Linked DNA regions of Homo sapiens: region 2 is linked to region 1. The links are contacts of gene promoters, found by promoter capture Hi-C in human tissues and cell types (Jung and others, 2019). All regions are on one chromosome and are shown on one strand. Each heading gives the region's core, a stretch centred on a gene start or on the middle of the fragment in contact. The rest is flanking DNA. Distances are from core to core; before and after follow the strand shown.

Region 1 (5,064 bases), core at 655-3,154:
GAGGGCTCACCCCGGTATGGGAATGTAGATGAGCCACACCCACACACACTGCCCCCAGTCGTTGACATTTTAGCTGAGACCTGAAAGCAATAATCCCCAGGGAGAGTGCTTTAATGGTGGAATTCCAGGCAGAGCAAGGACGAGTGGAGAAAACGGCTGGATACGTGCCCTCAGGTTGCACACGTATCCTGCCCTGCTTTGAAAAGCAGTTTCTCCCAAGTGCCTCAAGTGCTTGAGATATTCAATAACATTTCAGAGCATTAAAAACTCTGAAAGAAAAGAAAGCCTGCTACCTCTGAGGCCACATCCTCATCCCACCATGAAGATGCCTTGAGATCACAGGGCTTTGTGGTTTTAGTTGGGTTGGTTTCTTTGAAATGAGGGATTATTTTTAATGCGCCAAGACAAATCAGTTTCAAAAGATAAAGCTTATAATGTTGACTTTATTTCACCGTGGAAATTTTGTGCTCAAAGGTAAGAAACCATCTTATATAAAACAATCAAATAAATACATAAATACATTAAAAAAATGAGTCACTTCAAAGGCGGCCACAGGGTTGAGGAAAAAGCCCCTTGTGGAATCAGAAGCAGGTGTCTGCAGCCAGGACTTCCTCTTAATGCCGCCTCAGCACTGTCAGGGAAAGAGAGAGGGTGATGATGGTTAGGGTGGGAGATGGAGGCAGGGGCTGAGCTTACCTCATCGTGTGCCACCCACCACCCTGTTAGTCATCAGACGTTTGAGGCTTAATGCAACTCTCTGAGCCTCAGTTTCCTCATCTGTAAATTGGGGATTATCATTGCTCTGGTGATCCTGCTCTCTGCCTTTGAGACTATAGACAGTTTAGAGGAAACCAGGAGGAAATGTTTGGTTCTCTTTCTGCACCACTGGGGGGCTGCCAAATGATAAACAGACCCCCAAAGGAGATTCTGCCCCTTTGATAAGAAGTAGGAGGTGGGGAGAAGGTATTGTGGGCATGGTAATGAAATAAGCCCACATTTACTAATTCCACAAAGGCACCCCTTGGCCCTGAAGGCTGTTAACAAGAGGAAGCGATGTCCAGGTGACCTTTTCTCAAAGAGTGTGGTTCCCAGAGACAACAAACCCCAAAGTGACTCTAACAGTGTCACACACTGGAATGGGGGAAGGCGGCCGGGGTGGCAGGGGGTGCTTACCTTTGCAGCCCAGGCCACTGGAGGAGCTGATCCGGTCCATCTTCCTCCCAAAGCAGCCAGACCCTTGCACCATCTTGGGGCTTCGTGGTGCCCGCAGGGTGTAGAGGACCATTTTGCGGTGCCCACGGATGCCCTCGGTGGCTACCTCCCGGGACTTCCAGACACCTGTGGGACGGGGGCTCTCCTGGAGGGGCTCCAGGGATGTCTGCTCCACCTGCAGCTCCGACAGTTTGCCCTGCAAATGGTTGCGCTGCTCCTGCAATGAATGGGGGCGTCCAAGCCTCAGGGACCCACCCCTGGGCTCACCAGCCCTTCATGGCACCCAAGTGAACCGACTGCCTTGGGTACAGGGTCAGGGCACCCAGTCTCTCCATTTTCTGATTCCTTTATCACTAATTCCAAAGGAAAGATGAGGGCCTCTTGGGACAGCAGGTGAGGACCCTTTCATTGCTGCTGTCCAATCCCCCTGAGCTGCCCTCCGCTCTCACCTGTAACCCGGACGTTTCCAAGTCCGAGGCTGAACCGGGGCTGCCCAGCGGGTGGGAACGACCTCCCAGGAAAGCCAGATGCAAGAAGAGCAGGAGCAGGAGCGCCCGGGAAGGTGCTGTCTGGGGATCCATGTCTCTGGAGGGACTGCGGAGGCTGCTGCTGCTGCTTCTGCTGCTGCTGCTGCTGCTGCGATGCGTCCGGGTTTGCTTCCCACCTGCCCTCAGCCTGCGGGGTGCTCCTCCTGGCTCCTCGGGACACCGTGGCCTTTTATCCTGGAGCTGAGTGTCGGGCCTGCCCTGCCATGCAGGGTTATCTCTGATTTATCAGCCACATTCCGGGCCTCTGAGATCAGGGCCCGGGAATGAGCCCCTCCGCGCCTGCGACGTGGGAGGTGGAGACCGGGCAGAGCCGACCTTGTATAGAAATGGGCCGGGTCGGGCCGGGGGGCAGGAACGCGCTGGAGACACAGACAAGTCCCCGTCTCCCGCTTCTTCCTTTCCTGCAAATGTCCAGGTGTCCTAGGTTGGCGCTTTCTTCCTGCCTCCCCACCCCACCGTTGCTGGAAAAGGCAGGGAGGACCCCGGCTTTCCGAGGACCGACGTGAGCGCGGGGAGCACGGGGTGACTCACAGCGAAAACAGCCCCGGCCAAGACCCCGCCACCCGCGGCGCCTCTCCCCTCCCCGCGCGAGTTCCCTGGCCCGCACGTAGCGCAGCACCTGCTCGCCGCTGTGCACCCTGCCTGCCTGCGGGTCCTCGGGGGCGCCCTGGCCGCTGTCCGTGGTGCTGATCACCCCGAGGGAACTTGGAGCAAACTCTCAAGAGCTGCTCTCTTCAACGGGATTTTCAGGCCAGAAAGACCTGCGTGGAGCAAGGACAAGAGACCTCCGAGACCTTTCCCTATGCTCTCACAATCCGCCATCTTATAGTCCTTACAGCAACGGGATGCTGATTCCCCAGTGGCAATTCATTAAAAGCCTGGGTATGACCAGGAACTTCTGGAATGCTGACCCTTCTTTCACTCCTTAAAGGGAAGAGCAGATTTCGCTGGAATTTTGAGAGATAGGGTCCAGTGATGACGAAGTCACCCAAGAATGCCTTATATGTGTGTCCTCCACGTGTCAACACCTCCTCTCCCCCACCAAGCCAACACAGGATGGAAAACAAAAGGATAGGCTGGGCATGGTGGTTCACGCCTGTAATCCCAGCACTTTGAGAGGCCGAGGCGGTCGGATCACGAGGTCAGGAGATCGAGACCACGGTGAAACCCCGTCTCTACTAAAATTACCAAAAATTAGCTGGGCATGGTGGCAGGCGCCTGTAGTCCCAGCTACTCGGGAGGCTGAGGAAGGAGAATCACTTGAACCCAGGAGGTGGAGGTTGCAGTGAGCTGAGATCACGCCACTGCACTCCAGCCTGGTTGACAGAGAGCGAAAAAAGAAAGAAAGAAAGAAGGAAAGAAAGAAAGAAAGAAAGAAAGAAAACAAAAGGATGGCTGGAATGATGGTTATCTATTTGCTGGGATACCAGAGATATGGGGATTTCCCCTCTCCCAGTGCCTCCTTCATCTGACCACCCATGATCTAATTATCATTAGCAGGTGGCCTGGTGATTAGAAGTGAGACTTTGGAGAGAAATGCCCCTGAGAAGAGTCATAGCAGCTTAAATACCCCCCTAAAGCATATATGACTGATGTCACTCCCCTTCCAGAGAATTGGTGTCAACAAGCAGCAGGCTGGAGGAGTGGAGCTGTCTATGAGGGGAGAAGAGTTACAGCAGAGAAGGGCAGCAATAAGAAACTGGGACCTCTAAGCAGATCTTGCCTAAAAAATAGCATCTGCCCCTGAGGTGAGAAAAGCACGGTTATTATTCCTCACTTCAGAGGAGGAAATGGTGTTCATGAATTAATCTACTTTCCAAAAGTCACACAATTGACACATGATAAATCCTGGATTCTAACCAGTCTGATTAGTCTAGCCAGCAGTCTGATTCCAGACCTGAAGCTCATAATCACTGCCAGGGTGATCACAAGGTGTTTCTACAAAAAGCAAGCTTAGGTGAATCCCGTGTCATCTATGAAGGCTCTGGGAGCTGTGCTGTGGGGGATGTGCAATTCTAGTGGTGACTGTGTGTGCAGGAGAAAGAATGGGAAGTGGCTCAGATGAGCATTTTGCAGATGAAATATAAATGGAGGTGGGTGGGTAAGGGCTGTGTAAAGACACCAGTGCTGGAAATGTTCTGGGGGGCTGGGGTAGTTTTGTGTGTGTGTGTGTGTGTGTGTGTGTGTGTGTGCGTGCACATGAGCATGCCACAGTAAGAGTATCAAAAGGCTAAGAGGAAGCTAAAGAGGTAAGAAAATTCAGCCAAGTGCAGAGGGGAGTCAGTGGGCGAGAGGCTGCTGAGGGTGCAGAAAGCCCCTCATGCTGAGTACCATGAGATAAAGGGTTCAGAGCAAGGCAGGATTCATCAACCAGCACCATCAAAAACTGACTCTGCATCTCGCCAGAGCCTCACTTTGCTCTTCGGCAAAATGGACAGTCCTTGCAAGGACTAAAAGGAAAAAAATAATATCTGCAAAAGCCCGTGGCACTGTATAAAGGGCCAAATAATTAGTAGTACATGAGAGTTGGTCTTTACACTGAAGGAGATTGTGATCTCACTGGGGAGACAAAGTGACCCCAAGTGAGACAATTAAGTGTCTAAGTGTCATACACTCTGACAGAGTTTCTATCTGTCCCCAGTGGAGGGGACTGTGGAAGAAGACTTGAGGAAGACACAGAACTAGACACATCCTCCAAGGCCTGCTGTCCAGGGAGGAGGATATGTTGTCAACTAACTCTCACACCAGATCAGCCCCATCAACATTTATCGAGGGCCTGTCATATGCTATGTGCTTTCCAAGTCTATTTAATGAAGCTAATCATAACACCTCTGTTGGAGCATTAATGTACAAGGATTAAATTTGATGATGTCTGTGGTAAGCTGAATAATAGTCCCCAAAAGATGTCCATATTCTAATCCCCAGAATCTGCGAATATACTACTTTACATGGTAAAAAGGACTTTGCAGGTGTGGTTAAGTTAAGGACCTCAAGGTGGAGAGATTCTCCTGGATTATTCAGGAAGGCTCAATGTCATCACAAGGGTCCTTATAAGAGGGAAGCCAGAGGATCAAGGTCAGAGGGACAAAATGTAAGGATGGGAACAGGTCAGAGAGGAGAGAAGAGACTACACTGCTGGCTTTGAAGATAGAGGAAGGGGCCATGAGCCAAGGAATGTAATCAGCCTCTAGAAGTTGGAAAGGGCAAAGAAATGGATTTTTCCCTAGAGCTTCCAGAAGGAATATGGGCCTGCCAATACCTTAGTTTTAGCCCAGTGAAACAGATTTCAGACTTCTGATGTCTG
Region 2 (5,064 bases), core at 1,337-3,836, 130 kb before region 1:
CTTGGCATCTCACTCCTGGCCAACCCTCTGTTCCAGGGCGAACCAGGTTGCAAATGACAAAAGACTTTCCTGGCCAAATTCCTCACTGGCCTGGATCACGCCCATAAGATGCCAGAGATGTTTACTGCGTTGGAAAAATCAGTCGGGGTCAGGGGTCAGGCACCAAGGAAAGCAGGCAGATCTAGAAGAAATTAAATATGCTTGTTCTCTCCCTATCCAAGTTTGATGGGCATGGGAACCTTGTGGGGAGGGAGCAGGGAGGGCAGGGGAACTGGGAGATCAAAGCAGGCTAGCTGAAAGGCAGATATGGCTAGACACAATGGCTCATGCCTGTAATCCCAGCACTTTGGGAGGCTGAGGTGGGCGGACCACCTCAGGTCAGGAGTTTGAGACCAGCCTGGCCAACATGGCAAAACCCGGTCTCTACCAAATATACAAAAATTAAGGCTGGGCACGAGGGCTCATGTCTGACATCCCAGCACTCTGGGAGGCCGAGGTAGGCAGATCACTTGAAGTAAGGCGTTCGAGAACAGCCTGACCAACATGGTGAAACCCCATCTCTACTAAAAATACAAAAATTAGCCAGGCATGGTGGCAGGTGCCTGTAATCCCAGCTACTCAGGAGGCTCAGGCGGGAGAATCACTTGAACCCAGGAGGCGGAGGTTGCGGTGAGCCAAGATCACGCCATTGCACTCCAGCCTGGGCGACAGAGTGAGACTCCAAAAATATAAAACACTTAAAAATGTAAAAAGGCAGATCTGCCAGCAGCTTCGTACTTGAGACCAGACAACCCACACATGCTGTGTGTGCCTCACATTAAGTGGTGACTCGGGACTGTGCTGGCTCTGTGGGGCTAGAACCCTAAGGAGTACCGCCGGAAGAAAGCCCAGCATTACTATGGCTGGGGGACAGCTGTTAGATGGTCCTAGGACATCAGCCATGGAGAACACAGAGGGTCAGGACAAAGCTAAAATGCCCATAGAACTGCCACTGGTTGCCAGGGTAGTTCCATGGTTGGAAATTCAAGGCCCGTCTCTTTGCCCTAGCTATCTCTATTTGACATTTCCAAAGAGGGATGGGTGGATGGAACCTCTTAACTCCAGAGCTGGGAATCCCAAAGCCCTCTCAAGTGTCTAACCAACCTCTCTGCCAGGAAGTTCTTCCTTAGGTCTATCTTAAATTTATTTTGCTCATACAGAAGCCAGTTTCCTCTAATCCAGGGTTTAGCAAACTTTTACTGTGAGGAGCCAAATAAACATTTTAGGATTTGCAAGCCATCTGATCTCCACCAGCTACTCAGCTCTGCCGTAGCTCGAAGCAGCCACAGAGAGTGTGTAAATGAATTCATGGCTATGCTCCAGGAAAACTATTTCTGGACACACATGTGAATTCTGTATACTTTTCACATGTCACAAAATATTATTCTCTCTTTCCTTTTTTTTTTTTTTGGAGATGGAGTTTTGCTCTGCTGCCCAGGCTGGAATGCAGTGGCTCAGTCTCAGCTCACTGCAACCTCTTCATCCCAGGTTCAAGCAATTCTCCTGCCTCAGCCTCCCAAGTAGCTGTGACTACAGGCATGTGCCACCACACCTGGTTAATTTTTGTATTTTTAGTAGAGATAAGGTTTTACCATGTTGGCCAGGCTGGTCTCAAACTTCTGACCTCAGGTGATCCGCCCGCCTCAGCCTCCCAAAATGCTGGGATTACAGGTGTGAGCCACCGCACCTGGCCATAAAATATTATTAGTTTAATTTTCTAAAACCATTTAAAAGTGCAAAAACTGCTCTTTGCTTGCCAACTGCGCAAAACCAGGCAGTGGGGCAGATTTGGCCTGAGGGTCACGGTTTGCCAACCCCTGCTCAAGCCTGCTCACTCTCAACGCTGGCTGCACGTTGCAATAATCCAGGAACATTCACAGGCCTGGGGCCCACCCACAAAGCTTCTGTTTTGTTTGGTCTGGGCTTCATAGTTTTTCTCCCAGGTAACTTCAGGTGCAGCTGGGGCGGAGAGTCTCTGCTCTCCCCTTCCATCTGTAGCAGTGTGGCTGGTGTTAAATCCACCTATTCCACCTCTCACAGCTTTGGCAACCTTAGGAAAGTTTCTTAAGGTCTCTGTGCCTTGATTTTTTCATCTGTAAAATGGGAATAATAACTCTCCCTTCATAGGGTTGTTGTGAGTAGTGAATGCATACTTCTTTTTTTTTTTTTTTCTTTTGAGACAGAGTTTCACTCTTGTTGCCCAGGCTGGAGTGCAGTGGCACGATCTCGGCTCACTGCGACCTCTGCCTCCTGGGTACAAGTGATTCTCCCGCCTCAGCCTCTCGCGTACCTGGGATTATAGGCAAGCATCACCACGCCCGGTTACTGTTTGTATTTTTAGTAGAGATGGGGTTTCACCATGTTGGCCAGGCTGGTCTCAAACTCCTGACCTCAGGTGATCCCCCCGTCTCAGCCTCCCAAAGTGCTGGGATTACAGGCATGAGCCAGCATGCCTGGCCTGTGAACGCAGAATTCTTATAAGGTGTTTAGAACAGTGCCTAGCACCTAATAAACCTCCAGTGTTAGCTAATTTGTTATTCTAGGAGAATTTTAGATGTCGGTTCTTTGACAATGACCCATCACATACTCTGAGATCATTTCTAAGTCACCATTCAAGCTCCTTCCCCAAAGTGTGTTCCATAGAACACTGGGACCATGAGATGCTCTATTAGAAAGGGTCAGGGTACGGTTCCATGGTCAGAGAGGTTTGGAAAACTGTTCTGGCCTCAGCCCTTGGCAGCATGTGCAGATTCCAGGCACCGAGGCAGGGCTGGAGGAGTAAGTGGCTTTGCAATAAAATGGGTGCTGGAGTCTAAAATGATACCCTGGGTGGAGTGGGGGAGCTGAGCAGGAGGCCAGGTGGCAACCAGTAGCTGCTGGGCCCGTGGCCTGAACCCTCCTGCACTCCTCCAGCTGGAGTCTCACCGCGGATCCCAGGAATACCTGCTGTTCCCACAGGGCTGCCTTTCCGTAGTTTGTCTGGAGACACCAAGAGTGGTTTCCATGCCTGCTGGGAATAGGCTGAGCATGCAATGACATGAGGGCCAAGGCTTGTGGGAAAATGACAGCTTCACAGCCCCTTGAGGAGTGACCAAGCCACAAAGTAAATCCTAAAGCCACAACCCCTTCTACCACTGAGCTGCTGGAGGTGGGTCCTTATTTCAAGCCATATTCAACCCACCCAACAAAACCTAACATTGAGGTGGTGGGCACACGGCCCCTGCCGTGGGGCTCACTCTGCAGCTGGAGAGACAGCATACCTGAAACCTGCAAGGAACCGGTTTATAAAACAACAGAACAGCCAGGAAAATGGTGCTAGGAGAGACAGTGGAGAGGCCAGAGAAGCAAACCACTGTGGCTCCTCACTGGGGGTTTCACGGGGTTGGACTGAGCCCTGTCACCTCTGTGATAGTCTTCACTCTGACAGGCAATGGTGACTGTGTGTGTTTCCTGGGGAGGAGGTTAGCAGGGACGGTTGCCTTTCCTGGGAAGGGCAGTTTGCAGAACCAGGGGTTTATATTGCAGGGAGTGTATTTTCTGAATTCTAAGTCAGAACAAGCAGTCTGATACAGGATCCATGGCTGGGTCACTTCTGGGTGCAAGAGGCTTTCTAGACCTTAGACACTCAAGATTACGGTCCCGGGCCAGTAACAGCACCTGGGAGCTTGGTAGAAATGCAGAATCTTAGCCTAGGCAACATAGGGAGACCTCATCTCTGCAAAAAATAACAAAATTAGCCGGGCATGGTGGTGCACACCTGTAGTCCCAGCTATTCTCCAGGCTGAGGTGGGAGGATCGCTTGAGCCCAAGAGGTTGAGGCTGCAGTGAGCCATGATCGCACCACTGCACTCCAGCTTAGGCAATACAGCGAGACCTTGTCTCAAAAAAAGACAAAAAAAACAAAAAGAAATGTAGATTCTTGGGCCCCACCACCCCACGCCTACTGAGCCAGAATCTCTGGGGGTGGGGCCCAGCCATTTGGCTTTTCACAAGTTCTCCAGGTCATTCTTGGGCACGATCAAATTTGAGAATCACAGGTCTAGGATACGACGGGGAAAACAGAAATGTGGGGTGGTCAGGGACATTCGGATAATTCGGGCTATTTGTATTCAGGTGTGAGCTGGCAAATCCGAGACCTGTTTTGCGTAGCTAATTACCAGCAATGACAAACTCCCAGGCTCTGAGGCCCAAGCCTCCTGGGCTGCAACTGGTCTTTATTTTTGGAGGCAATGAATGGAGCACCTCGGCCTGGGACCCTCAGTGTAGGGTTTTCTGACTCTTAGGCAACTTCCTAGGGTGCTGTACTTCCTTTTTAAAGTTGGGGAGCGGCAGGGGGAGGGGGAAGTGCCACGCCCTTGTAGTTTCATGATGTCATGTTGCATGTGCTCTTGAGCTGTAAATAAAGAGACGATGGTTAAAAAGCCCACCTGGTGTCTCTCTTTGTTCCTCCAGGAGACGGTCTGTCTGTGCTGGTAGTGAGCTCTACAGGGGCATTTGGAGGGGATCCTTAGCCTGGTATTCCACCTATGACTTCTCAACACACTGGACTGAGCATTTGCCCTGAGCTAAGCAGCAAACAAGGCAGACAGGACCCCTGCCCTCGCCTGGTCCTCATCATAATCCCTCAGCCAGACCTCTTGACTGCGAGTCTCAGATTTTTTTGTTGTTTTTTTTTTTTTAGACAGAGTCTTGCTCTGTCACCCATGCTGGAGTAAAGTGGCACGGTCTCGGCTCACTGCAACTTCTGCCCCCCAGGTTCAAGCAATTCTCCTGCCTCAGCCTCCCGAGTAGCTGGGATTACAAACGTGTGCCACCACGCCAGGCTACTTTTTGTATTTTTAGTACAGACGGGATTTCACCATGTTGGCCAGGCTGGTCTCAAACTCCTGACCTCAAGTGATCCACCCACCTCGGCCTCCCAAAGTGCTGGGATTACAGGCATGAGCCACCGCACCTGGCCGGAGTCCCAGATTTTTATCTCCCTACCCATTTTAGGGTTGGGGCAGCTGAGGTCCGAAAGAGATT

Evidence for each region. Contacts are between HindIII fragments. The study calls those that stand out against the background at their distance.
Region 2: a fragment that was not itself captured here is called in contact with the fragment with the promoter of NPPB in region 1 in 1 of the 25 tissues and cell types used here (bladder).

The regions. Positions count from the first base shown.
Region 1 is chr1:11,857,041-11,862,104 of GRCh38, forward strand. NPPB (natriuretic peptide B) reads right to left here and starts at 1,905. Exons shown (of 3, transcript NM_002521.3): 1 at 1,662-1,905; 2 at 1,174-1,429; 3 at 424-631. The coding sequence starts at 1,793. The coding sequence ends at 615. RefSeq lists a silencer at 2,304-2,470. The HindIII fragment of the contact is 5,805 bases long and covers 1-4,409 here.
Region 2 is chr1:11,721,395-11,726,458 of GRCh38, forward strand. DRAXIN (dorsal inhibitory axon guidance protein) reads left to right here. Exons shown (of 7, transcript NM_198545.4): 7 at 1-4,463. Among named protein-coding and RNA genes, the nearest start is that of AGTRAP, 12 kb to the right of the region's middle. RefSeq lists an enhancer at 4,818-5,064. The HindIII fragment of the contact is 8,805 bases long and covers 1-5,064 here.